Linked DNA regions of Homo sapiens: all the other regions are linked to region 4. Evidence: promoter capture Hi-C in 16 types of primary human blood cells and fetal thymus (Javierre and others, 2016). All regions are on one chromosome and are shown on one strand. The core of a region is centred on a gene start or on the middle of the fragment in contact, and the rest is flanking DNA. Distances in the headings are between cores, read along the strand shown.

Region 1 (7,101 bases), core at 3,949-6,448, 190 kb after region 4:
TCTTGTTCTTTTTCTAAATTTAAGGGGAAAGAATTCAATATTTTATCACTAAGTATGCTGTAGGCTTTTGTAGAGACCCTTTCTTAGAATATGAATATTGAGAATATAATTTGCTGAATTTTCTTTGAATACTATTCAAATATTGAACTTAAAAATGCTTTTTCCACATCTGATGAGATGGTAATATAATTTTCTTTCTATTCTGTTAATGTGGTGAATTATAATGATTGATTTTCAAATGCTAAACTACCCTTGGATTCCTAGAATAAAATTCATTTGTTAAGAATGCATAATTTTTTCTGTGTATAAGTGGATTCAATTTGCTACTATCATGATTAGGATTTTTGCACCTATGTTTATAAAAATTTAAGATTTTTTTTTCTGGTCATTTTCTGGTCAAACTTTGCTATCAGAGTTATGCTAGGATCATAAAATGAGTTGAATACTGAATAACCCCTTTTCTTGTTTCCAGAAGGAGTATGTGTAATATCTGTATTAATGTTTCCTTAAGTGTTTTTAAGAATTCACCAAAAAGCCACAGGGTCTGAAGGTTTCTTTGTGAAAGATTTTTACATTATGGGTTTAATTATTTATTTTGATTGCTTTGTTTATGTTTCTCCTGAAAATTTGAAATTTTTGCTCCAGTGGTTATAAGGAGAACTACATAAAATATAGTGAAGTTTCTATTTCTGCAGTCAGTGTCTATTGATTTCCTTCCCTAGAATGGCTGAATTAACATATTTCCACTTCTTCCATCCCTGCCACTCTCTGATGTCAATGAATGACATATTTTTAGTTTTACCTTGGTATTGTTAATATGCTTATCTTTGTTACGTATTTTGGTTTTAAAGGCAACTTAAGTTGATTTTAAAGACAATCTTTTAACACCTCACTACAAAAGATAATGGACTTAAACTACCCATTATTGCCACCCTCTTTCCTCTCCTTCCTTCTAATTTTTGTCAGATATATAATTTTAGCATTTTTTGGTATTCATAATATTTACATCCTGTTCTTAAGTCGCAAGCCCTAATTTTTATCTTATTTTTAGTCTTGTAGCTAAATGAAACCTATGTTCATTGTCAATCTTTTGCCTGAAGTTTCTGTATCATTCTCTTGGTTGGCTGATGTTTGCCTCCTAGTTTTTTCACAAAAAGTTAATGAGAAATATATATGCGAAGGACATGGAAGTCCCCCAAACTTTGCTTTCACTTTATACTTTAATGACAATTTAGCTGTGTTTATAGTTCTTGAAAGATTATTTGTTTCCTTGGGGACATTTTAGCCATTAGTCTTCTATCATTGAGTGTTTGAATGTTGCTCGGGAGTTATCTGAGATTAGCCAGCCTAAAACCTATTTCCATAGGAGATTGATAATTTTCTTCATTTTAAAGAAATAATTAATGCAAATGTAATAACCAAATGTGTAATTTAAGAGCTGCATTTAAGAACTGGTAACATTTGAAGAAAAAACATTAGGTTTAATTTGGGTAGGTTCAAAATGTCTCCCTACCCACTTGTAGTTGGGATCAGAATACAAAGTACACCTCAAAACATGTCTTTTAAGGGAAGAATTGTTTCCTTGGGTAAGATAAAACTTGAAACTGAATTCCTCACTATTGAAATTTTAATAGTACAAGGTTAAAAATGGCATTCAATATGAGTTTTGTTGTGTGGGATGGTTTTGGAATCTTTAACTGAATAATTCCATTTGTTTAAGTAGTGAGGTACTAACTTTCAGAGGAAGAGACTTTAAGAGAATCAGTTGAAAATGACTAATGCCAAACATGAAAGCAGCATCATCATTTCTTTACTCATTCCTCAGAAGAGAAACACCCTTACTGCCATCCAGAGGTCTATGGTCCAGTGGCGAGTTCAGCAACATTAGCAAAGGGGGTGAAGGATGAGAGATGACTCAGAGACTTTTCAGTCAGGTCTATTGAAGAGATAGCTTAATCAGGAAAATTAGGACCACTTTAAAATGAGTATCAAGAGTGGAAAGTAGAGACATGCTAATAAGAAGATAGGACTTCTGAAAAAAAAAGTAGCTGAGTATATATGCAAACAGCCAGGACCCTGGAACCTAAGTTTCCTTCACCATTACTGAACGTTTTCAAAAATTCCTTAAACTTCTATTTCTTTGTCTAAAAAACTGTGAAAATTTTCCTTATTTCAAAACTTTGCTCAGAAATGTCTCTCCTGAGAGTCTTTGAAAGTTTAGGGCATTTAAAAATGCATATTATTAATTTTACTGAGTTAATAGCCATTATAGTCTAGTAGTGTGTGTAATATATATCAGGGGACATCTTAAAAGGCATATTATCATAAAATGCATATTTAAGGACTTTCCACCTACATAAATTGAACTTAATAGATTATAACAAGTCTAGTGGGCCCATTAGGGTCTTTGGAAAATACAGTTCAGGGCCTTGTTAAAACATATATTCTTCATGTCATATTCTACTTAAGGAGCTTGCTTCAGTAACCTAGAATTTGAATATGTTTGTCTTGCTTAGTCATGAAAAATGAAAATAAAGAACTCTTTCTTTTTCAGTAAGACAGTCTACAAAGTCAGGAAGAAAGCAAATTTTGCCGCTAATTACATTGTTTTTAGTTTCAAATAACATACATAGAAAAGTGTCAATTAAAATAATAGCTGCCAGTAAAATGTTAAATGACTTACACGTTTTATATATATATATATATATATATATATATATACACACACACATATATATATATTAATCCTCCTTTTATAAGTCAGAAATGTGAGGGATTATATGTTTCAGTTTAAGCTGAGGTTATTGATTGTTAGTTACCAATGGATATACTTCAATGAGAAGCATTGGGTATAAATTATGTCCAGTGTTTCTCATAACGTGATCTGAAAAACCACCTACATCACAATCTCGTGGGTGCTTAAAATGCCTGTTTCTGAGCCTCATTCCTGATCCCCTGGATCAGAAGTCTAGGCATGTGCCTTGGGAATTTGCATTTTAATAAACTCTCTTAGAGATGGTTGCATAACAACTAAAGTTTGAGAGCAGTTATTTTAATGTGCAAACCTATACACATAATGTACTAAATATGTGAAGCCCTATCTAGAACGAACTTCTGGGCATATATACTTTGACCGCAGAGTTTATACTACAATTCCTTAAACTTTCTTCAAGTAATGCTTATTTTGAAACCAGTTCTGGTCTCCAGTGCCCAACTTGGTCTTATTTAGAAAGCCACTGAGCTTTCTGGCTCTAAGACTGAGACATGGAGCTCTAACTTTGTAGCTGCAATTGGAAAATGCATTAATAAGATATTTGAGTGCAATTGCCCATTAGAAATTCTATTTCTAAGATTTTGGATACTTTTTGTATTTTGTTTCATTTTGTGTTGTGTTGTGTTGTGTTGTTTGAGACAGTCTCACTCTGTCACCCGGGCTGGAGTGCAGCAGAGAAAACACAGCTCACTGCAGCCTTGACCTCTTGGGCTCAAGAGATCCTCCCACCTCAGCCTCCCGAGTAGCTGGGACTACAGGCATGACTTTTGATATTCCTTAAAAATCTTTTTTTGTTGTTGTTCAAAATCAAGAGGCATCATCCCAAAGGTGTCCACTCAAGGCCTATGGATATTCAGCAATGATAACTGACTCTTATCTGCAGCACATCACTAGCTACACCAACACAAAACAAAACACAGCAAAATAAAATCCTTCTGTCATGTTCATTTATCCTACAGTCTTCCTCAAAGTGGAATTATAAAAAATGGAATTTTATTATTTACTAATAACTCTATGTCTAAATTTGTTTTTCCTGTTTTCTCATTTTACAAGTGCAAACATTATCCTCTTGACTCAGTGAAAATTAGACTTATTCTTGACCCAGACATACGGCTATACTGAAGGAAAATTCATCATTGGCTACTGAGAAGGATCAACTCTGATAGCTGAAATAAATTTGAAACAAATCTCACACTAGAGACTTGAAAGTCCTTAAAACGATTGCTTGGTTTCACAAACAACACTGTGTTTTTAACATATAGAATCGGCTAGAGGTCCTTATGTGCTTGTGAAATTTTCCAAATGTGAAAGACATAAGCACCACCGTTTGTATCACAGCTCTTTCTTTCACTGGCTTCTAGGACTTGAATCTAACAAAATACCTCCCAGCTGTGCTTAACTGCCTTGTGGGGTTGGTTCTTGATTGTTGGTAAGGATTCCCTGCCATGCTTACTTGGGAGCCTCCTAACATTCTTCCTTCTCCTGGAGAGAGCCCCTAATGGAATGGAGTTCTTAATACCAGAAAATTGCCTAGAAAATTTACTCAAGTAGTGGGCTTTCTCAACCCAGGGTTACAGTAAAAGGGAAATGTGAAAAGTTTAGAATTAAGTATGAACATCTAGTTCTGACATGGGAGGAATAAACTGAGTACAGCATGTAAGAAAGATAATTATTTGGACCCTTAAAGCTTTAAACCAAATACTCTGACTCATACAGGTTCTGGAAAAGACTCAAAAATGGTTCACTATTGACCCTGCTGTAAGAAACAGATCTTTATTTTGTTTTTTAAAGAAGTTTTAAACACCAGATTCGAAATGACTTAAATATGCAAAAGTGCAGCATTATTACCATTTTCTTTCCCCATTCTTATATGTTCATTCTCTAACTGCAGCCTCATCAGTGGTTTACTACACCAAAGGCAGTGAAAAGGTTACATGTCATTTCCTGTACTCCTCATATTCACTAGATTTGACTATAAATTCCATAGTGAATTACAGCACCACCATTATTAAAGTAATATAGGCCAAAAGATAAGCATTACTTAGTGTGCTTAGTGCTTAGGATTTTGCATGAAGTATCTGAAAAGGGTCTTCTGCCCTCCACCATATGTGGGCTTTTAATAGTTGGCTTTTCCTTATTAGTTCCCAGATGAGAAATTAATAAAACAAATGATCGTTGCTACTGATAAATAAATGCTATACCGGAATCATTTGGGAAATCACTACTGCTTATGAAAAGACTTCTAGCACCTCTTATACCTTTCCATGTATCAGACAAGAAAGTTTACTGAGTTCTGTGCTAGATGCTCTGGTGGAATAAAAAGGAACTAGAAAACAACACCCACGTGTTAAGAGACTGATAATACCGTTGGAGATTCAAAACAAACCTCTTCCCCTCCTCCCTCAGCAGTCTCAACTTGTCTTATCAGTTCAATCATCATCTCTCAAGAGGATGGTTCCTAAATCTATAACCTAAACCTGATATCTTTCCTGGAGTCTGGTCTACTTTACCCAACTACCTGTTAGACATCTCCTCCTGGATGTCCCATTTATTCCTTTGGTTCAGCATGTTCAAAACAAAACCCTTCTGCTTTCCTTTCACATCTGCTTTTCTTCCTGCATTTGCTCTTTTCTATTTGTGCTGATAACATCACCATCCTTCTGGGCTTTGCACAGGTCTGAAACCTGTAATTTTTATGAACTCTTGCTTCTCCCCTCTTTTCCTGTCACATCTCATTTCTCATAGCCGCCCTTCTTTTTCAGCCCCATGGCATTTCCCTAAGTTCTGGCTTTCCTTGCCTTTGCCTAGATTGTTGGAATAGGTTTCTAAGTAAATTACATACCGCTAAGTTTTTTACCCACTAATTTTTTCCTACATAACTAGCTCCATTACTCTCCAAAAAGTACAATGCCGGGGTTCTACTCAAAAAGAGTCAGTGCCTCCTCAATGGCTAAAAGAGCATGTCCAGACATCCCTAACTTGCCCTTCGTGGTTTCTACAACCTGATTCTGCCTGCCTTTCCAATTTAGTTTCATAGAATTTTCCTTTTTCGGAATCCTGTGCTTTACCTAAAGCAAGTAACTTGCTAATCCATATATTTGTGCCTTTTCTTTTACTTTTCCCTTGTTCTAGAATAACGTCCCTCTATTTCTTTTGATGTAGATCAAGCTTGTCCCAACCACGGCCTAGAACAGCTTTGAATGTGACTCAACACAAATTCGTAAACTAACATAATGAGAGTTTTTTACTTTTTTTTTTTTTTTTGCTCATCAGCTATTGTTAGTGTTAGTGTATTTTATGTGTGGCCCAAGATAATTCTTCTTCCAATGTGGCCCAGGGAAGGCAAAAGATTGGACACCACTGATCTAGATCCTACCTAAAACATGGAAACTTGCTCAATAGCCACAGAATTAGACTAAAATTTAAGAGCCAATTTCTAGAACAGAATGGTCTAGGTTCAAACCCTGGCTCTCCCACTTTACTATGTCAAAATACTTTACCTTCCTCTACTTTAGTTTCCTCATCTCTAAAGCAGAGTAGTAGTACCTAATCCCTAGTGCTATGATGAGGTAAATGAGTTAAAGCTCTTAGACTAATGTTTCATGTCTATAAGATCTTATATAAATGCTAGACTTCAATTGTGAATGAGTAATTTTTGCCTTCATTTCTAGAGCTTTATCTTGTTAAGAAAATTCTCATTGCATATCAAAAAGCTTAATAATGAATGTGTACAAATGATGTATCTCTTTATTTGTGAGCATGTGAAGTACCCACTTATAAAGACTCTGGTCCTAGGCATAATAAAAAATTGTTAGTATGGACAATTTCAAATAAACACAAAAGTGTGCAGAATAAAATATTGAACACCTGTATATACTTCAGCTGTCTTCAATTCACAGCCAATCTTGTTTCACTTAGACTCCATCTTGTATTATTTTGAGGCAATCCCAGTCAGCATATGTTTCAGCTATTAACAGTTCAGTCTGTATCTGTAAATGATAAGGCTTTTGTTTTTACATAATCATTATTTCATTATAACACTTAAAATTTTTAAACATAACTTTTTAATATCATTAAGTAGTCATTTGGTGTTCAAATTTCCAATAGTATCATAAAATCATAATTTTCGTTAACAATTTGCTGTAGTCAGGATCCAAATAAGATAGGCACATTCTAGTTGGTTGCTGTGCTTTTGATGGTCTCTTGATCTATAATTTTCCTCCCCCTCTCTGTCATTTTGTTTGTTTTATTACATTATTTGTTAAAGAATCGGGGTTGTTTGTCCTGAAGAATCTTCCATAGCCTGGATTTGCCAACTGCAGTTTCAT
Region 2 (7,199 bases), core at 1,932-4,431, 170 kb after region 4:
GAACGGGCCATGATGACGATGGCGGTTTTGTGAAATAGAAAAGGGGGAAATGTGGGGAAAAGAAAGAGAGATCAGATTGTTGCTGTGTCTGTGTAGAAAGAAGTAGACATAGGAGACTCCATTTTGTTCTGTACTAAGAAAAATTCTTCTGCCTTGGGATGCTGTTAATTATAACCTTACCCCCAACCCCGTGCTCTCTGAAACATGTGCTGTGTCCACTAAGGGTTAAATGGATTAAGGGCGGTGCAAGATGTGCTTTGTTAAACAGATGCTTGAAGGCAGCATGCTCGTTAAGAGTCATCACCACTCCCTAATCTCAAGTACCCAGGGACACAAACACTGTGGAAGGCAGCAGGGCCCTCTGCCTAGGAAAACCAGAGACCTTTGTTCACATGTTTATCTGCTGACCTTCCCTCCACTATTGTCCTATGACCCCGCCAAATCCCCCTCTCTGAGAAACACCCAAGAATGATCAATAAATACTAAAAAAATTAAAAAAAAAAAAAAGAAAAAGGCCATTTAGCAAGGATTCATTCACGTGCTCTTCACTCCTTAACCCTGAGCTCAAGTTTTTACTTTATGTCCTTGTGAAGGTAGAAATATTACTTGGTTACATTTATGAAAAGAAACAGCAAATAGACAATGAAATGTAAACATCTGCCTCATTATACCATTCAATATTTTTAAGTAATTGCTTCAAATCATGTAATTTAGTTTGCTTTTAAAATGATGATTATTTTATGTTGTCACTCAAGTTCTAACTTGAAGTTTGAGAACTAATTTTCTCAAAGTTAAACTTAACTGCAGAACCTATTGCTAAATATCATTTGATTGTGAGAAACATCCAGTGGCAACTGCTACTTATACCTTACTTTTCTTGATTTATTACCTAAAATGTAGTCGACTTGGTTCACTGAATAGTGATGTTTAACTTGGGCATATATGGTGGCAGATTCTTACCTGGATCTAAGATGCTTCTGCTGGTGTGGAAATTTTCCATTTGGGAAATGAAAGTTTTCTGGTCTCTTGAGGGCCTCTTAAGTTTGATAAAAAGAAAAAAACAATCAAATGAGCACTTCTTCGTGAATCATAAGACTGAAGGAGAGGTGGAGAGCATCAAACATGTGGCATATTCTGCAGCTGTGAGAGTCCATGGTTGAGCAAGTTCTTGCTTTCTCTTGTTTAGGCTTCTGGGCATTATCTACTTTGATAATCTTTATTGCTGATCTTTTCTTCCATTCTGGGTTATACTAATAACAATAAATGCAAACACAAAACTAACAAGTTCATATGGTCCCTGCTTTAACTCATCTCTTAAAACCATTGTTGGAAAACTAGTTGTAAATTTCCAGTGACTTGTGATTTTTTTTATTGTCTTCTTCTTACCAAAATATAATCTAGGTCCTAAAATGCCATATGAGATATGTATTTAAATTAGAAAACTGTGTTTAAATATTTATTACTCTGGTTTTATAGTGGTTGCAAATATTTTTTACCAGACAGAATCCACTGGAAAAACATTCCACAGACCCGTATTCTTAGTTGATTTATTGAACTCTATATTGTTATAAAATTCCGTACAAAATATAATATTCAAATGAATACAATTATTTAAATGTCTACTATAACGTAGCGTAAAGTACACGTAGCGTAAAGTACACTTTGCTACCCACAAACTATCTGGGGTTATTTATAATAAAGTCATGCATCAAAACATTTGTATTTCTTTTATCACCAGTCAACATCAGCTAATTTTCAGATGACATAATTCAAATTTTTGTAAGCCAGCCTAAAATAGAATATATTTAGGCTTGGTGCTGATTGTATTAGTATTGATTTTATTAGCACTAATTTTATATGCCACCTTTTGCCTTCAGTGGTTACTTTTGAAGATGTGATGGGGGAATGGAAAATGCTTAATAGAAAATGTCTTCACTTATCTATTTCATAGGTTAATCATTGATATTGTTTTCTTATCAAATGAATATTAAAAATAGCAGCAGTGAATTCATTCTTGTTATTCTGTTGCTTTTTTGTTTTCAGCATTAAAAATATATCAGCAATTATGATATGTCTCATATAGTCCTAGGCTCATAAGCTTGTTGGATAATTTATTTGGTAGCATTTTGTTCATTTATTTCAGATAGATAGATTTAACTTTTATATTTAACTTGTAACAGCAGAAATTAGATAATCAGACTATTTTTATACTAGTACCACAAATAAATAATGTCACCTGCAAGCAACTTTCTAAAATATTGACTTCTAGCATTAAATGTCATGAAATTATAGTAACTCAGAAAATCAATAGTGATCATTTGCTACTAGAAACAACAGTTATGGCTTTAAATAAATGAGGATTTTTACCCTGAAAAATCTTTTTACTTTTGTCAATTTCTCATTCAGTTGTTATGGTAATTACATGCAGGACATGAGAATTTGAATGAGTGGTTGTGACTTTGGGCCACTTAAAATTTGGTATTGAGTGAGAAAAAGCCCAAATAAGGATGTTTATATAATATACGTAAACGATTATTCAGGACATTCTGGGGCAGCATCTAGATCACTCAACAAGGAATCAACATTCTTAGTTTCTGGAGTACCACTCCTGAAAGAGCCTAGACTTGATGTTTATTTTGAAAGTGATGGTGACATATCGTAAAATAAATGGATTCACATATTTTTGTGTTCTGTGTTCCAGTCCAGCTCTGTAATGGCAGCTGTGTGAACTTGGATATGTTCCTAGCTTTCTTTATCATAGTTTCCTCTTTTATAAAATAAAGTTAATTACTACCTCACAGAATGACTGCAGGAATTAAATGAGTGCCGGTGAATAAAAGATGTTCAATAAATGTTAATATCCTCAGCAGCCAATATACAAAAGTAATATAAAATCTTAATATTTTGACAAAAATTTATTTGACAGAATTATTATATATCTTTATTTGTGTAATATTAATTCCTAATTTTTCTTGTGAATAAGTAAATAAAAGACAGGAGGCTATAGTAGTTAGCTACTGATATGTGACAAATCACCCCAAAACGTAGTGACTTAAAACGTTCATTTATTTAGCTTGTGATTATATGGTTTAGAAATTTACACTAGGCTTAGCTCAGTGATTTTTTTTTGTCTTAGTTGATCTTATCTACGTTCATTCATACAATTCGCCTGTGTTATCGGCAGGTTGTGCATCCAGGGACTATGCATCTGTGGATTCACCCAACCATGAATCAAAAATAAATATTGAGAAATAAAAATTAAAAATAACAATACAACAATAACAAATAATACAAATAAAAAACAATATAATCTAACAACTATTTACATAGCATTTACATTGTGTTAGGTATTATAAGTAAACTAGAGATTATTTAAAGTATATGGGAGGATATATGCAAATACTACTTCCTTTTTTATAAGGGACTTGAGCATCCATGGACTTTGTTATCAGCAGGGATCCTGGAACCAATCCCCAGCAGATTCTGGGGCAAGAGTGTGTATCTCTTCTCAGTTGCCAGGTTGGCTGAGGGTGGCTGGGCTAGTTTGGCCTCTGCTAGACAACATGTCTCCACTCCAGATGATCTCTCATCTTCCAACAGTTATCCTGGACTTGTCCTCAAGGTGAAGGCAGGGATCCAAAAAGAGGAAGCAGAAGCATATAAAGCCTCTTTAGCCTCCTTGCTCAGAACTAGCTTGCCCCCACCTCCATCACCACCATGTTCTACTGGCCAAAGCCAGTCTCAAACCCAGCCTAGATTCAAGGAGTAGGAAAATAGATTCCACCTCCTGATGAGAGAAGCTGCACGGACACATTGCCTAGGGTGTAAATATATGGAGAGGTGAAAAAAGGGGCCATTTTATAATAAATCTAACACAAATGATATAAAATTTTATTTTAAATTAACAGTAGAGTAGAAAGATTAAACAGATTTATCAACTTTACTTCATTTTTTTCCTTCTCCCATGGCCTAAAATATAATTCTTAAAGTTAGGTTTATATAGTGGGACTTGCAGACTGTGTCAAAACATATTTTGAATTTGAAATGGTAGAAATACTTTATATGTAATAGGAAAATATTATTTTAAAAATCTTAATTAGAATGGGAAAAAAGAAACACAATATATCAAATAATTAAACCAAGGAATGGTTTTGTACTTTTACATAGCAAAATGTACTTATTAACTTTATCTAAACTAAAACTGATACAAGAATAAATGGAAAAAACAAGTCAAAGTTGAAATTTTTTTTTAGGATTTCATGATTAAAGCTTCTTGGTGATTATGCCTATTATTTAAAACTAATGCAAGTATGTTAAATACTGCTATTATAAATATAGCACTTTCCCTTCATCACTCTAAAGCAACTGTCTACATGTTACCTTACTTCCCGTGAATTCTGTCTTGGTTCACCTTGCAGAGTTCTACTGAACATCAGCGTGTTATACAATTGTTTCCTTTACCCTAGTAACATGTAAACTAAACTTCTACAATTTTTAGGAAGGACTTACTTGTTTGATTTGACAGCTGACTTAAAAAATAAAGAGAACAGATGGAGCAAAATAATAACTATGATTTTAAAAATCATAGCAATTTATCTGTGGCCAATGATAATTGGTATGGGAGTAACCATGCCAACTTTCAATTATCCATGGTAGCAGGCAATTGGGAAAGAGTGATGGTAATCCCACAGCCAAGCCAGAGGCTTAATGCTAGTCATTACAGATTGTGTATTATTTTCCTAATTCCTTACAGTGCTCGTGAATAACTCTAATTTATGTGAAATATGTTTAACCCTCTGTTGTTGCATCACTTGCTAGTAGTTATAGAAAAAGTAAAATGTCCAGAGAGAGAGAGAAAGAGAGAGAAATAAGAGGAGAATAACTATAAAGGGCTATAATATTTTATGAACATTAGTCTTTTAAAGTATTATTTTAATGATTGCATAATATTTCACTATATAAATACGTAATATTTTATGTGAGCATTCCCTTGTTGTTAGAAATTTAAGAACATCTGTTAAATGTGTTTTCTTATTTGTGTCACTGGTGACTTTAGCAAAATAATTTTGATGGAATAGAGAGTAGAAGCCAGGTTGGAGTTTCCTGAAGAGTTAAATTACAGGTGACCGATAAAGAGGCCATGCAGAAAAACCCTCACGAGAACTAGCTGTGAAGAGGACAACAGCCATAGGACAGTAGCTGGAGAGGGTGTGAGTCATTTAAGAAGACTTTATTCCAAAATCCAAAGCCATCATAAGGTCCTTGGCAGGAAATATTCTTGAACAAGTTAGGACCCAAAAGAAAAACACGGACTAGTTCACTAATACAGAGAATTCCAAACGTTTTATACTTCCTAAGAAATGTCAGACTTTAGGCCATCATTTTTAAGGAATTCCCACTAAAATCAAGACTAAGACAAAGGTGTAACTGCTATTATTTAACAATATTCTGGAATTTCTGACCAATGTCAATTTTACTTCCAAATTATAGTTTAAATCTGTCTATTTCTCTCCATCTACCCCAGTGTCACCAAACCGTAATCATTAGTCACCTCCTAGTTAATCTCCCTGTTCTCACTCTTTCTCATTCATTTTCCAAATTATGGTCAGATGCATCTTTACAAAACTATTCATGTGGCTTCTATTTTAAAAACATTTTAGTTGTTTCCCATTAGGTTAAAATCCTGAATCCCACAAGGTCCTGCAAAGTTGGACGTAGATGTGCTTCTCAGAACTCATCTCTTCCCACATTCCCCTTTTCTGCTTCTATTCCAGCCACACTGACCTTCTTTCAGTTACTTGAATGTGCCAGGCGCTCTCCTGACTCACAGTTGTCCATCAGTGTCCCCACTGCTTTGAATATTTTCCCCTTCATTTAGCTTCCCTCTATCCACTTAGCACATCTTAAAAGTCATTTTCTTGGAGGCTTCCTTGACTCTCCAATCAAAATCTGCTCCTTCTGTTATAATTTCTCATTGTACCTTTAGCACTATACTGCACCTGTATAGCATTTACCACAATTTATAATTATAAATATACTGGCATGAGGATTTTGTTTGTCTGTTTTTCTTTCTCCAATAGAGTAGAAGCTTCAAGAAAACAACGACCATGTCTGTCTGTGTACGTTTTTATCTCTAACACCTAGTTGAATGCCTAGCACACAAAAGTATTCAATTAATTCATTCTTTACTGTGGGGAAGTATTATAGAGAAAGTTAAGTAGTGTTTCTTTTCAGCCTCCAGAAGTATTTAATAATTATTATCTTGATGCATTCAATTCAGTATCAACCCTATTTTTTTCAGACTCCTACTATTGAATTTGTGAGATATAGCTAGGGATAAAAATTAATTTTACATGTATGGCCCTTAGAATTGTGTTTAAAAAGACAATATATAAAATATAAAACATTAATATATTTAATAGTATGCTAAAATTTACACAGGAAATATTGTTTAACCTAGTATATTTCCAATTTTTATTATTTGTGAATCACATTGCCTTTTGGCAGGCACTATTTAGCTCATAATTCTATAAAATAAAATACAGTTCTTTTAATACCAGATATTGCAATGTCTTTTGAATTTAGTAGTAATGTTAAAGGTTGTCTACTGGCTCCTGTATCATAATTTTACTTTCCAATTACAGTGGAATTTTGGGCTGTTGACTGTAGTGAACCTAGGTTAGTTTTGTTAAGGAAATTTATTCACTCAATATTTTATGTAATTTAAGTACAAATAAATATGAAAGTTTGGGGTCACATAAGAAAGAATAAATAGAAAAACCATGATCCTCATTTATGTAATGATTAAGGCAACTTGACTTTTAGTAGTTTCTCCTTAGTCAGTGCTGGGTATAAAAGGGTGGTTTTACAATGTGCCTACATTTTGCTTTTATTTTGACCTTTACTCCATTTATCCTATTTCTTCACTCCAGGCTCTGGAGCTGCCTCAGGTTTCTACTCTTAGCTTTTGGTCTTCCCTTTCTCCTTTCTCAGGATCTGCCTGTGCCATAGACTCCACTTCCTCTGCTCTCTGCTGGGCTCCTTGTCCTCAGCTGCTCATTAATCTCTTCACCCCCACTGCTTTCTTTTTCATTTGTTTGACTTACCTCCCATCAAGCCTGATTTCCACTTCAGGTTACTTTCTTTCATTTTTTCGCATATTTTTGTATTCAAAAACAAGGAATAGATCTCTTAGGCAG
Region 3 (7,674 bases), core at 1,468-3,967, 150 kb after region 4:
TGTATTTAATTATCTAGTTGTGATCAGCATTCTATATCAGAACACCTAATCAAGCGATTTTAACCATGCTCTTTAACACTAAACTCTGTATAACATTATTTGAAGTAATAATTAATACTTTTCTTTCATTTAGACTCAATTGTAATAATTTTCTGAATTTTTTAATTCCCTTTTGTTAGCAAATGTAGTTAGCAACCTAATTCCTTAGCAACTGCATTACTTTCTCAGTTCTTTAAGACCCTTGTTAATACCCTCACCCATTTCAGAGCTGAAATTCTCTCAGAGTTTTATAAAATATTAGCTCAATTTTAATGTTCTTGAACCTGAGGGGAAGTGTTATCTGAGCTCCATTTTGGGAATAATTTTCCAGTTTATTTTTCTATTATTATCTTCCATATCTCCAGTTAATTTGCCAAAATGTGTTGACTTTATGAAATGATTGCTTTGCTGATATGCTTTGACAGAAAATCAAAACTGTTTAAAATGGAATAAGTTAGCTTATTTGACTTCTTAGTCAGAAACTGGTATTGATTTATTTCAACTTCTCCTGCCCTCCAATCCCACTATAGAGGTTTTCATTTTGAGTAGTCTAATATGCTAACCCAGAGATGATGAGTAAGTTTCCCCTCATTTTCTTTCCAATCTGACATTACTCATATGCCCATTCTGTAACCATACCACAACAATAAAAATTAATTAAACCAAAATACGTTCATAATTTTTAAAAATAAGGATACCTTCTCTTAGTAATAACTTTACAGAAGTAGGATTTAATATTATTCTTTTGACTTCTTTTAATATGTCAATATAAGAAATAATAATGTTTCTTTATCCTTTCTAATCCCATATTGAATATATTGAAGTAATTGACAAGTCCTTTTTTTGGATCAGTTTTACCCAATTTGATATAATCTCATGTAATCTACAGGAATTCACTTGAAGGTGAAATTTACTTGTGGGTCTTCATCTGAAATTAACAGATAGTATCATTATAATAATGGTATTACATATTCATAAAATTACAATATATTTCTTAATTTCTACCAAGTGTTAGTGACAGAGAAACTCATTCAAAAAGTGTATATTATTTTCCACTGTTTCGAGGATAAATTTATTAGACTGAATTTGTGATAGTGCTTTTAAGGAAGCCATAGATGATCCATAGACTTCCTTGCACCTGTTTTTCCATCCCTGCTTGGCAGTTAGACAGAAGAGCAAGGAAGCTGATCATTGGATTGACCCAGCTTTGGGGTTTTTCCTGGAGGATGTAAAGGAAAGTCAGGCATACTAAATGAAACAAATAGGAATATCTTAGAATCTGAAATTTCCTGACCTACTTGAATTGAAAGCATCGGATAGGATGTAGCTTTTAACTCATTTAAACTCATTTATCATATTAATTGAAGTAACAGCAATAGTATTATTCCTTACATTTGGTAAATGTACTTTTGGTAAATATTAAATCCTACTTCTGTGAGGTTATTACTAAGAGAATGTATCCTTATTTTTAAAAATTATGAACATATTTTGGTTTAACTAATTTTTATTGTTGTGGTATGGCTACAGAATGGGCATATGAGTAATGTCAGATTGGAAAGAAAATGAGGGGAAACTTACCCATCATATCTGGATTAGCATATTAGACTACTCAAAATTTGGTAAATTACAAAGCTGAATTACATATTTCTGTGTGAATATGTCTAGTTTTAGTTATGATTAGCACTTAGATATTTACGAATTACTGATTTTTTACAATTTATTATTTTGGCTTGTGGGCAATATGAGGAAGGAACTTGAAGCACAAACTTTGGTGCAAGCAAAAGCAACTCATCTAGGAAGAGGTAGATTCACTTTGACAACATTAGTAATTAACGCACCCCTTAAAAGTAATCTCCTAATAAGCATTTCTGTATTTTAGGGTGCAGTTGGTAATAAAGGTGAATTTGGTGCTCCTGGAATTCCTGGGGAAAAGATATGATGGTTTACTCTTTGATCAAAATTTATGGTTATTTTATAAAGCTGTATCAGATAGGATAGGAAAATATACAGAACAAGTCCTATAGTTTAGAGGTAATCAAACTGTGGCCCTATAGTAGGGCTGCCAGAAACTCTCACTGTAGGATTTTGTACATAAAGTTTTACTGGAACACAGCCACACTCATTTGTTTTTGTATTACCTAAGGCTGCCTTTGTGCTTCATGGCCAAGTTAAGTAATTGTGGCAGAGACTGTATGGCCCACAAAATCTAAAATATTTACTCTCTGGCCCTTTGTTGAAAAAGCTTGCTGATCCCTGCTCCGGAACATTGGCTGCTATTCTTTTAGCCCCAGGGCTTCTCAAATTCACCATTTTATATATAATATGGTGTCTTAATATGTATTTCACTGCAGACAAAAATTAGGCAGTTTATGTAAACATTTTATAATATAGACTATAAGACATACTATAATTAAAAATATAAGAAATATATTTCAGTGTATCAATAAAATGCTATACTGTAGGCTATAGCTCATAAAATGATTGATTTTTATGTTTTTCCTGTAATACCACAAAGATGATTCCAAACAATAAATTCACTCACGAGAAGTTACTGTTGCAGTTTAGCATCTTATTCAACTTCAGTTTTTGTAGAATATTTAAAAAATTGTTGTATTTGTATATTAAACTGCAATCACCTTGTCGTATTTTTCCCTATATATGCCTATATTAATATTAATAACTTTGCTAAATTTTTAAAGTTCTCATATGTTGATGCTAAGAAAATTCTCTTCTTTATGAAAATATGCTTAGTATAAGTTTTTGTGGCATTCTAGCTGCACTGATTATCAAGTGAGTCCATTGTGTCATTATCTAGAAGGCCATGACCATTGTGGTTTTATTCACCTAAAGTTAGCACAGCAATAACTGAAGCTGAAGCAGTAGGAGGTTCAGAGGTTTTCAGACAGATATTTTTTCAGACCTTCATAAATGTGTCTCTGGTATCTGATGGCTTCATTGATGCTACTTTTTCCTTTCATAAATTATTCAGTCTGATATGCAAATTCTTTACTCCTATAGGAATGTAACTGTTAAACTCAGTAAAGTCCAACAAACTCTATTGAAAAACAATACCTTGCTGCAAGTTGATGTTTATTTGGGCTGCTATCTTCTTGTATAAGCTTACTGATGACATTAATTGACGATTCTTCATCATAAATAAAAGCTTCTTTAAATACTTGTTCAAAGTTCTAATTCTTTAAAAATATCTTTTCTCTAGAGAATATTACTTGATCACCTAAAGAGATGCCCCAATCTAAATTTACCTTGTACCCTTATTCTACCAATCTTTTTCTAAAATGCATCACAATAATCTGATTGTTTAGATTTCAGATCATTAGGAGTTTTTGAATTATTCTGAACATGGGAATCTTTTTTAAAACATTTGCAGAATCACCGAAGCGCTTGAGCTATAAAATAGATTGTTTGACTTTATTGTGGGATGTAACGTGAGACTTACGTACATTTACACAATAAATTATGGCATAGCAGGATAGAATTCCCTTTGAATGCTTTAAAACAGAATTTATCAAGGTTGGTATAAAATAGCATTAATTTTAACACTCCAAAATGACAGCCCTTGGATCCTTATGTATGACAACCAGGTGCAAACTGCTACTTATTGGTTGTGGAACAGGTTCTCAACTCCTGAAAAGGTGATGTCCACAGACTGACAATATAAGGACTAGATGAAGCATTCAGTAGAATCAATCCTGTCAAAAGCTGATCAAATGAATTGCCATCCAGGGCCATGATAGTAAGAAAACAAGTCTAGAAAGTTAAGTATGCAAGCCAAGAAATTCTCTAGAAGAAGAGAGAGTTTCTTAGAAAAGAGAGGGCATTTAGGGCAACGTGAAGGAACTGGAGCAAGTCAGTATTTCAGAGACAGGCACTACTCAGAACTAAAAATTTTGTTTCTTTTCCCAGAAGTCCACTTTTGTAGAAAGAATCTTGTGTGGTGATTCATCCTATATTTCACTTAAAGTAAAACTTCAGTGAATATAAAGGAAAATACTGATAATCTAGTTAGATGAAGTCATTCTGAAAACCAAAATCCTCAGCCCTTGGTGCCCATTTGGTCAAAATGGTGACTGAGAGAGTCTTGCAAAATCAGTTAATGAGTGTGTCTGTGTGAAGACACTGTTCCCAGAGAACTTAAGAAGCTAATATCATAAAGAAGCAGCTGTTTTTATGGTGTTCTAAAACCATGGCAAAATTGTCCTGGCAAATACTCTTTCATGTTTCCTCAAGCAGTTTTCTTCTGGGTCTAATTTACTTGAGTTACTCTTAAAGGGTCTCACAGACAGTTAGAGAATTCATGTAACTTCCAGTGGTGCTAAATATGGTAACAGATTACGTTTAACTCTTGGTTCCCGGATTCACACATCATCAGAGACCGTACTTAGTGGTTAATATCCTTCCAATACCTATAGAAGCACTGAGTCTTTGACCACTTTCTCTTCCCAAGGACTCAGTCCCTGGTGGTGCCAGCTATGATTCTAACTTGTCACTTCATTTAGCTGTTAAAGGGGTGTGACACTCTTGAGTGAAAAAATGCCGCCTCAATAGTGTTTTCTCGCTTCTATAATCCACAGGTTACCACTTATTGAAAATAATTCTAAAGAATGTATACAAAATGAAAACAAGAAAGTTACTAGCGTATTATCTAACAGTAGGTTAATAAATTGTAAAATTTTTTTTAAATTTCAAAATTTTAAAATCATCCTCATGAGGTTTATGTTTGGGGTGAAATATTTCTGTTATTTTACAAGAAAAATGGTTTGTTAGATTTTTCTAAGTAAATTTCCAGAGAAAAATTATCAGTTCTTAACATGTGTGTCACCTCAGGGCTTTGTATCCCACATTTGCTTCAACGTGAAATATGTGCATCTTCCAGAGTAACTTATCCAGCATCCCCTTAACTTTGACTCTGCTTGTCAGCAGTTATAATTCTTTGTTTTGTTTTGCTTTGCTTTACATAGAATCAGGAGTACTTAAGAGTACTGTTAAAAAATAAATAACTAGGTTGAATTGTTTAACTGTTTCACTTGGAGCAAAAACATATGTACAATACCATAGAATATGTATCTCAGGTCTAATATTCTCAAAGTGAAGATTTTTTTCTAAAGTTAACATTTAAGCTAGGAAACTGATTTATATTAATGGAGTGAAGCATATTCTGAGCAGTATGAAGTATTAATTTGTACATTAACTATACTTTACACTTACATCAATGTCATACTTCAATAAATTAAGTGATTTGCATATAAATCACATTATTCTAAAATAAACCTACACTTTGAAATTTAGCTAGGTAATAGCAGTAAATTCTTTTAAGTCAAGACTCTGAACAATGTATTAATATACTGTGGTGGCATTTTTCCTCTGACACCAAGGATAAAAATAGTACACTAAACAACACAATTTTATAAAATGTATTTATGGAATGTGGAGTCATGAGGACTCTAATAAGGATGAAGTATAGCATTTAGTTATGTTCTTTTGTAATTGTAATACTTATCACCCAGTACAGACTTGCAGTAGACATTCTTAATCTAATATTAGTTCTAATCTAATAAAGCCTTACTGTTAAACATTGCATAAAAATAACTGTCCCCTTTACATTTATTCAGAACAGCTATGATTTTGCCTAAGAGATTCGGTAAGTGTTCTGTTATGAGTTCATTTAAGAAAATCAGTTCTGTGTAGCAGTATTATTAGGTAGCTGGCGACTTCTGGTAAGCTTGGATGGACAGAAGGCTCTGTCAATCAAAATAAGTAAACTGGATGGTTCCATTTCCAAGAGAAGTGAATGACTCAAAGCATGAGATCACATGAATGCAGCCACACACACACACACACACACACACACACACACACACACACATGTTCACACCTTGCATCCTCATGGTATGAAGTAGGAAAATGAGATGAGGATTTGGACACTATGAGCAAATTTTGCCCACTTTGCCCCCAAATATAACACTCAAATCATGTTTGTTTTCATTACCTGAATACTTCAAACAAAAAAGTGCCTCATTTCATACTTCACTTATGTATTTAAACATAAAAGATATATTTCTCTAGAAGTGGGGATTTTTTTCTAAGTAGGAATAATTATTGTCCAATAATCTTATCCTAATAATGTGATAGTAAAAATTGAACAAATATAGAGCCTAATTTATGCTAAAACCCATATTCTATCTACTAAATTACTTTAAATTTGCCCTAAAATGTTTATTTTAATAGGAAAACTTTTACTAAGTTAATTTTGCTCCCCATGGAGTAAGTATGAAGTAAATCATAGCCATCATTACTTTACTATGCTAATATTAAATACTCAGAGTTAGACTGCCTGGGTTTGAATTCCAGCTCAAAATCTTACTCTCTAATTTAGAGCATGACACTTGGTCTCTCTAAATGTCAGTTTTCTCTTTTATAAAACAGGAATTATATTGCATCTACTTCTAGCTTTATCTTAAGGATTAAATAAGATTATTCATAAAAGTGTCAGCACCTGGTATGTAAATATTTGGTAAACAACAGATATAATTTTAACAATAAACAGTTTGATGATTCTATTATTCTAGCCTTACTGTGGGACCAGATTAGAACTTATTTGAAGGAATGTATACACTTCATCTTAGCCAAAAGGCCAAGAAGCAAACACTTGGGGGAATTTATATTAGTTATTGAAAATATATTTACAGGAAAATGTTAAAGTCACATATCTTATGTAACCTTGACCTCTTAAAACAAACTAGATGTCAGAAAACCAGTGAATTCCTCACTTATTATAAATATGTACAAGAATATAAACTTTTACAATAATAATAATAACAGCCATTTACTCAAAAAGTGTTATATGCTAAATGCTATCAGGAGCCTTCTTCACATTATTTCATTCACTCCTTACAACACCCCTGTGAGGTAAGATTTATTGTCACTATTTCACAGATTAGGAAACAGATCTAGAGAGAGAGAGGGAAAAAAAATTAAAAACTTCCCCTAACTTGGTACGGAGAAAATAGTAGAGTCAGGATTTGAACCTCTATCCATGGAAATCCATAGCTCTTGCCCCTTTGCCATATTACCTCATCTGGACAGCTCCTCAAATATTCAGATTTCATTTACACAGGCAGGTCTGAATTAGATCTTAAATTTGTTTGCCTGCCAGTTTAGTGAGTGAACTGCAGTTTGCTTCGGACATCCTGCTCCAAGGAGGGCTGTGTCCCTTCCCTTTAAATCCAAGGACCCCTTTTAAACTGTATCTGACCCTAGGGATTCTGACTCCCCCACCTTCATAAGATTGTGTTCACCTATTAAGAATCATTATGCATATGGTTTTTCACCAAATGAGAGGGTTTTGTCTAGCTTTACCTTCCAAAATAAGTATCATGGAAAAAAATTTGCTTGGTTTCCAAGTACAGGTTACATTTGAAGTGTGTTTTCAAACATTCCGCGCTTGACTCTCTGGAGATTCTTAATCTACCCTGCATGCCCACGTCCAGGCAGCTCAATCATGGGCACTCTCCAGATTAACCTTAATGCAACACCTAATGTAGAAATTTTTCTCTTACATTCTCCACCAAATAAATATATATAATTTATTTATCAAAAACAAAATTGTTTAACTTA
Region 4 (6,881 bases), core at 2,885-5,384:
CAACCAGGCAGAAGAGTTAAGCCAGAGATTCCCAAACTTTTTGGTCTCAGAATCCCTTTATAATGGTTTTAAAACTGATAACCTTAAAGAGCTTTTTGTTCATGTTATCAATCATTACTACAATATAAAATAAAACCAAGTATCCTCGTCTATAGGAATACTTCTTTCATAACAAGTTATAAGGATTAAATGAGATATAAAGGGTTTACCATAGTGGCTGGCCATAGTAACTGCTTAACAAACAGTAGTAGTTATTAGATAATTTGATAAAAGAAACAAATATATAACTCTGTTAACAATTATAAAGAAAAGTTTCAAATAGTCCCCCCAGCTTCTCCCAAAAGATTCAAAATAAATTGGTCTGAACACTGAGATTTTTAAAACTCCCCAGGTGGTTCTGATGAAAGGTCAAGTTTGCAAACCACTGGGGCAGAAGAAGGAATGAGAAGAGATGAATCTTCATTAAACTAATGAGAATAGATGACATACTGTATGGGATCTTGTTAAACTGCAGATCTGATTCAGTAGGACTGGGGTCACATATTTGGTATTTCTAACAAGTTCCCAGATGATGCCCACACTTTAAGGAACAAGAATAAATTTGCTTTACAAAAATGGAGAGTCTCCTATTGTAATGGCAAATACAATTTAAAGGTGGTGTGAGCCAAATTACAGAGGACATTGAAGCTAGATAGAACAGTTTAGATTTGATATAGTAAAGACAGACATAGTTAGATTACAGGCATGAGATACCAAATCTAACAATTCCTTATGTGTGAAGAAACTGAAGTCCATTCTTTTTGCCCACGATCACAAAAGTAGGCAACATTCATGTCCTGAATCTTTTTTTTTTTTTTTTTTTTTTTGAGACGAAGTTTCCCTCTGTTGCCCAGGCACTATCAGAGCTTGCTGCAACTGCCTCCACAAACCACCTCCTGGGCTCAAGCAATCCTCCCACCTCAGCCTTCTGAGTAGCTGGAACCTCAGGCATTTGCCACCTCGCCCGGCTAATTTTTTGTATTTTTAGTAGGAATGGGGCTTTGCCATGCTGCCCAGGCTGGTCTCAACTCCTGAGCTCAACTGATCCACCTGCCTCAGCCTCCCAAAGTGCTGGGATTACAGGTGTGAGCCACCACACCTGGCCCATGTCCTGAATATTTAGTAGATGATTGGCAGAAGTTCTCCAAGTGTGAAATCCCTAGGCCCTGGTAGTCCCCAGAATCCTTTCTGGAGATTCAGAAGTTGAAAACTATTCTCATAATAAATACTAAGATGCTATTTGCCTTTTTCACTGTGCTGACATTTGCACTCATGGTTCATAGCCACAGTGGGTAAAACTACTGGTGCATTAGCGTGAATCAAGACAGTGGCACCAAACTGCACCAGTAATCATTGTATTCTTCACCACAAGTTCAAAAAGGGACAATTTAAATTAAGACTGTGCTTCACAAAGCAGCATAAATTCATTTTATTGAAATTCAACCCTTGACTCTTTTTAATACTTTGTGGGGTAAAATATGAAGCATGCGTACATAAAGTCCTGCTGCATACCAAGATGTGATGGCTATCTCCAGGAAAAGTTTAGAGTTAAAAGCTAAACCAACCACTCTTCAAGGAACACCATTTTTACTTGAAAGAACAATTGTCAAACTGGTTATTCAGACTTCGCTTTTTGGCAGATTTTGTCAAATGAACAAAGGGAATCTATCACTTAAAGAAAAACTGACAGTATTTGATACCAATGATAATTATGAGTCAAACTTTCAAATGAAAATTGGATTTTGAAAGACTTACATCCACAAGTATGAGCTTGACAACTCTTCAATACTTAGAATTTTCAGAGACATTTCTGACAAGATCAGTTGTAATTTAATGAAATGTGATATTTTGATATTGTGTAATGAAACGTATCCATATTTAAAAGATGTGCATAACTCAGTAAACCAACATTTTCTAAGTGGCCATGGCATCATGTTATAAAACCATGCATGGGTAAAAGAGCCTTTCAAAGTGCAAGATGGGCTAATGGATTTTAATGTAACAATGAATGAAATGCTCATTGATAGGGTTTCAGATTCCACCTTGCAGCTGACATGAATCTTCCACTTGTTGAGCTTTGGTGTAGTGTCAAAAAACATCCACAATTATCTGAAAAACGCTCCTCTGTTTCTGACTACCTATCATTGCAGCTGTATTTTCTCCATACACTTCGACTAAAATAACATACCCCAAAAGACTGAATGTAGAAGGCAACAAAAGAAACCAGCCTTTCTTCTAATAAACCAGGATTTAAAGAGATTTGCAGAAATTTAAACAAAAGTCCTTCTTCCTAATGCTTTTATCCACGACAACATTCAATTCTGATTTTATTTGTCCTTGCTGTAATATTGCCAACTTAAATGGCCTCTCTTCTTCATCTATCCAAACTCTACCACAATTCTCATTTTCTTCCAATATTGTTGTCTATTCTCTTAAGTCCTGCTTTATTTATAGTCACACTTTGGCTTTCGGTCCATAAAATACATGTTTCAAGAATTTCAGTTTTCTCACTTATCTTCAGGCCCTCTTTAAAGCCGTATTTTGTTTGGTTTACATCCTCTTACAATTCACACCACTTCTGTACCGTAAATGTTTATTAATTTATAACTGCCAAGATAGTCTCACGTAACTTTCATACATTACATGCTTATTTATTTTTTTCTAAACAAACTAAATCTGATGGACTGGAAAAGCCAGGGGGCTCTCCAAATACAGGACTGGGTGGCTGCAGAGACCACAGTCAACCTTTAGGGTTTCATTTCCTCCAAGAGAGGACTAACATGTTCCAGGGTAAAGGCAGTGTTTTTATCTGTGACAGTGATGGCAGTAACAAGAGGATCCTTTTCTTAAATTTTCACACCATTCTTTTCTTTTATTTTCTTTTTTTAGTCTCTACTGCAAAAATCTACTAGAACATACTACATAGGTACCAGACACCAACTGGATCTGACAATTAAAGTAAAACCAAACAAGCCTGATTTCCAGAACTGGAGGTTTTTGTTTTGCAATGCAAAAAGGTCAAAATACGTGAGAACAGAAAGTAACTACAGCCTCGGACGATGAGAAAAGAGAAGATTTGAGAAGGTAGAGAAGTTATGAAAGGAAATAAATTGAACTCCCAAATAAACCAAAGGGTTTTAATATGAACAGGGAAGTAATAGCCAGGCCACTCTGAGACATTTCTATCTACACTTTGCTCACTGAATATGCAGAAATAAGATCGTTGGAAAAGAAAGCACCTGAGGTCAGACAGGTAGTAGTATATACTCCGATACTGGTAATAAAGAGGGCTACAGCTCCGCCCTCCACAGGTATCTACACCAATCAAAAAAAGATTAGAAGAGAATGTGACACCTGGAAGTCAGAACGAGCAACTCACGTCATCAAGGCAGAATCACACAATGGGCACAGAGGTTGGAGACTCACTAGCCCCAAGGGTAGGGAAAATGAGGGAAAAAACATACAGAGAAGGTGACAAGTAAACAACGCCAGCGCCTACTTAACTTGCAAAGATCCAGCGCTGCCGCCCCACACCGTGTGACAATGTTTTACAGGGGACGAAAGGCCACCACATACTTCTCAACCCCGAGGGTCTCTTCCGCCCCCAAACCCCACCGGCCCCATTGCCCAAGTCAGCGATGACGGCAAGAGCTTCCAAAAAGGACCCTGCAACCCTAGACGTCATCGGTGAAATGACAGCAAAAGAGACCGGAAATCGACACCCCCCTGCCCCCGCCGCCCGCCCAAGCCCCCAACACTAAGGAGCCCTCCACAGTCCAAGCTAAAAGCGGGGCGGGGCGAAGAGGGTCTCCGGGGCCCGGAGAGGCCAACTGCAGGGCCTGCCCCTCCCTTCCTCCCCCAGTCCAAACATGGGGAAAACTCCAAGCGCCTCCCCTACCAGTAGTAAGAGGCCGAATATGCACCAGCCGATCACCAGCTCCGCCGAGGCCGCGCCAGAAGTCGCCATCTTCGCTTCCGGTCCAGACCAACCTGAGCGCCCGGGGTGGGGAAAGGGGAGGGGGAAAGGGGAGAGAGCGCGAGATATACTGCACCCGCGCACCCTAAAGGTTAAAGGGGCGGAGGGGGAGGAGCAAGTGGTTGCCAAGGAGACTGGACCCACTAGCGTCCCCTGGCGGCGAGCCGAGCGGGGGCGGGGCAGCAAGGACTGCTCAGGGGCGGGGCGCGTGCGGACGCAGTGACATCACCACGCTGCCCTCGCTGGCTTCCCTGCAAGCTGAGATGTGGGAGGGCTGCAGAGCAGGGTGTTGGCTCATAGCTGGGCAACCTATTGAGATATTTGACTCAGCCTAAGTTGATAGACTAGAACAGCAAGGGAACTCCACAAAGAATGGGCTAGGTGGACCTGGAGATCCAAGTCAATTTTAGAGGTTTATACTTCTTCACCAAAAGGAAGTTTGGCCCTCGTGTACAAGGTGGAATGTGTGTGATTAGCAGAACTCCTTACCAGGTTGCAAGAATGGCTGATGTCAGGCCTCTGAGCCCAAGCTAAGCCATCATATCCCCAGTGACCTTCACGTATACATCCAGCTGGCCTGAAGCAACTGAAGATCCACAGAAGTGAAAATAGCTTAGCTGATGACATTCCACCATTGTGATTTGTTTCTGCCCCACCCTAACTGATCAATGTTCTTTATAATCTCCCCCACCCTTAAGAAGTTTCTTTGTAATTCTCCCCACCCTTGAGAATGTACTTTGTGAGATCTACCCCCTACCCCCAAAACATTGCTCTTCACTCCACCTCCTATCCGAAAAACTGTAAGAACCAATGATAATCCCACCACCCTTTGCCGACTCTCTTTTCGGACTCAGCCCGCCTGCACCCATGTGAAATAAACAGCCATGTTGCTCACACAAAGCCTGTTTGGTGGTCTCTTCACACGGACGCATGAGACAGCTGACTCTGAATAAAAGTTGACTAGCTGCCCAAATCACTCTAATTTACTGGCACTGGTGCCCAGCCGGGATAACTGGTTGGCTGGACATGAACTTATCACATGATGTTATAGCCTTTCTATTCAGATGTATGCATGCCTGTGAATTTCCATGATAGCTTTGTATGTAAAGGTATATGCATCAGCAAACAAAACACACTGCCATAGGCCCACAATGAAGAAGAAGGAGGAAACTCTTGGGATGGCTTACCTGAGTCCACAGGGAGGAAACTCTTGGGATGGCTTACCTGAGTCCACAGGGGTGTGAGTGCATGTTTCACCACTGTGATGTAGTCAAGAAACAACTCTGAGAAAAAATACCATCATCTTTTTCCAATGTATTATGTGGTGATGAGTTATGCTCTACCTATAATCTACTTCCGGCTGGAAGCCTGAGGGAAAAAATAGGATGGTCCTTCCTGCCTGGACAGAATAAGAAGGGAATAGGGGAGAATACAGTTTTAACTTGAACTGGTACCATCATAAGCTGGCTTTAAGCCCTCTAGACCTGCAAATGTTTGAATTTCACTCTTTCTTCCTAATAATTCATATCCCTGGAGACCTCTGTCATAGCTTCCTTAAAGTGAAGAGAGGTATCGCTTCCAGGTTGATATCTCTATTCCAGATTGTATAGAGCACCCTTGACATAAGTAACTACTTCTTAGAAAAAGATTCTGTTTACATTTCAAAAGGAATCATGCCAAAAGGGACCAGATGTTCACCTAATCAATAGAGACTGCACCCAACCAGATAACGACATAACCAGGCACACTCTTTTATTATTATTATTATTATTATTATTATTATTATTATACTTTAAGTTCTAGGGTACATGTGCACAACGTGCAGATTTGTTACATATGCATACATGTGCCATGTTGAGGTGCTGCACCCATTAACTAGTCTTACATCAGGTATATCTCCTAATGCTATCCCTCCCCACTTTCCCCCACCCTACAACAGGGCCCAGTGTGTGATGTTCCCCTTCCTGTGTCCAAGTGTTCTCATTGTTCAATTCCCACCTATGAGTGAGAACATGTGGTGTTTGGTTTTCTGTCCTTGCAATAGTTTGCTGAGAATGATGTTTTCCAGCTTCATCCATGTCCCTACAAAGAACATGAACTCATCCTTTTTTATGGCTGCATAGTATTCCATGGTGTATATGTGCCACATTTTCTTAATCCAGTCTATCACTGATGGACATTTCAGTTGGTTCCAAGTATTTGCTATTGCAGGCACACTCTTTACTATCAGTCAACACCAGAGGACTCTGAGGCTATAAAAAGAGTAGAACTTCAACAGCTCAAGATAGCCATCTTAACAGACACTGTCTTACTGTCACTCATGATCAGCATCTAGCATCTGCCACCAAAGGTTCTGCTCAAATCAAAGACTCTTCCTTGCAAAATGTTGATATGCATCCTGATCAGCCGAGGACACTCTCCTTGTCCATGTTGCTCTCCTTGGATTGGTTAATCCTGTTTTCCTAACCTTTCTCTTGATGTTAAATGTTATTTTCTTTTAGAATGTTTAGCCTATAATATTTATATGTTATGTATACTACTATGTTTGGTTTGCAATATTGACTGACTTGTGGAGTGGCTAGAGCTTTGTGTCCTTGGTTCTGACTACCAAATGAATGGGTACTACTAAGGAAAATTACCTCCTTCGGACCTTCATACAGCTCATGGCTTTTATGATTGAAATAGCATCAACAAAAGTCTGACTGTGGAAAGACACAAACTTGCAGGGACTTGAGCCACTGACAGGTAGTCACTTATATCTCCTCCACAAGCCCCAGAGCATACTGAGGTATACTTAATTATTCCTTTTCCTGCTGAGGTCTTGTAATCTTCTTCTAGAAGCTCATTTAAGTTGGAGGAGAGGCCT

Evidence for each region. Contacts are between HindIII fragments. The CHiCAGO score rates a contact against its expected background, and 5 or more counts as called.
Region 1: a fragment that was not itself captured here is called in contact with the fragment with the promoter of LMBRD1 in region 4 in 2 of 17 cell types (total B cells and naive B cells); the score reaches 10.4 in total B cells.
Region 2: a fragment that was not itself captured here is called in contact with the fragment with the promoter of LMBRD1 in region 4 in 2 of 17 cell types (total B cells and naive B cells); the score reaches 6.7 in total B cells.
Region 3: a fragment that was not itself captured here is called in contact with the fragment with the promoter of LMBRD1 in region 4 in 2 of 17 cell types (naive B cells and total B cells); the score reaches 7.5 in naive B cells.

Annotation. Positions count from the first base shown.
Region 1 is chr6:69,983,533-69,990,633 of GRCh38, forward strand. All of the region lies in intron 11 of COL19A1 (collagen type XIX alpha 1 chain), which reads left to right. Among named protein-coding and RNA genes, the nearest start is that of COL19A1, 120 kb to the left of the region's middle. The HindIII fragment of the contact is 1,481 bases long and covers 4,459-5,939 here.
Region 2 is chr6:69,966,289-69,973,487 of GRCh38, forward strand. The region is part of intron 11 of COL19A1 (collagen type XIX alpha 1 chain); the gene reads left to right. Among named protein-coding and RNA genes, the nearest start is that of COL19A1, 100 kb to the left of the region's middle. The HindIII fragment of the contact is 2,171 bases long and covers 2,097-4,267 here.
Region 3 is chr6:69,944,794-69,952,467 of GRCh38, forward strand. All of the region lies in intron 9 of COL19A1 (collagen type XIX alpha 1 chain), which reads left to right. Among named protein-coding and RNA genes, the nearest start is that of COL19A1, 82 kb to the left of the region's middle. The HindIII fragment of the contact is 877 bases long and covers 2,280-3,156 here.
Region 4 is chr6:69,792,876-69,799,756 of GRCh38, forward strand. LMBRD1 (LMBR1 domain containing 1) reads right to left here and starts at 4,135. Exons shown (of 16, transcript NM_018368.4): 1 at 3,938-4,135. The coding sequence starts at 4,006. RefSeq lists enhancers at 3,086-3,642, 3,467-3,516, 3,643-4,198, 3,827-4,056. The HindIII fragment of the contact is 19,066 bases long and covers 1-6,881 here.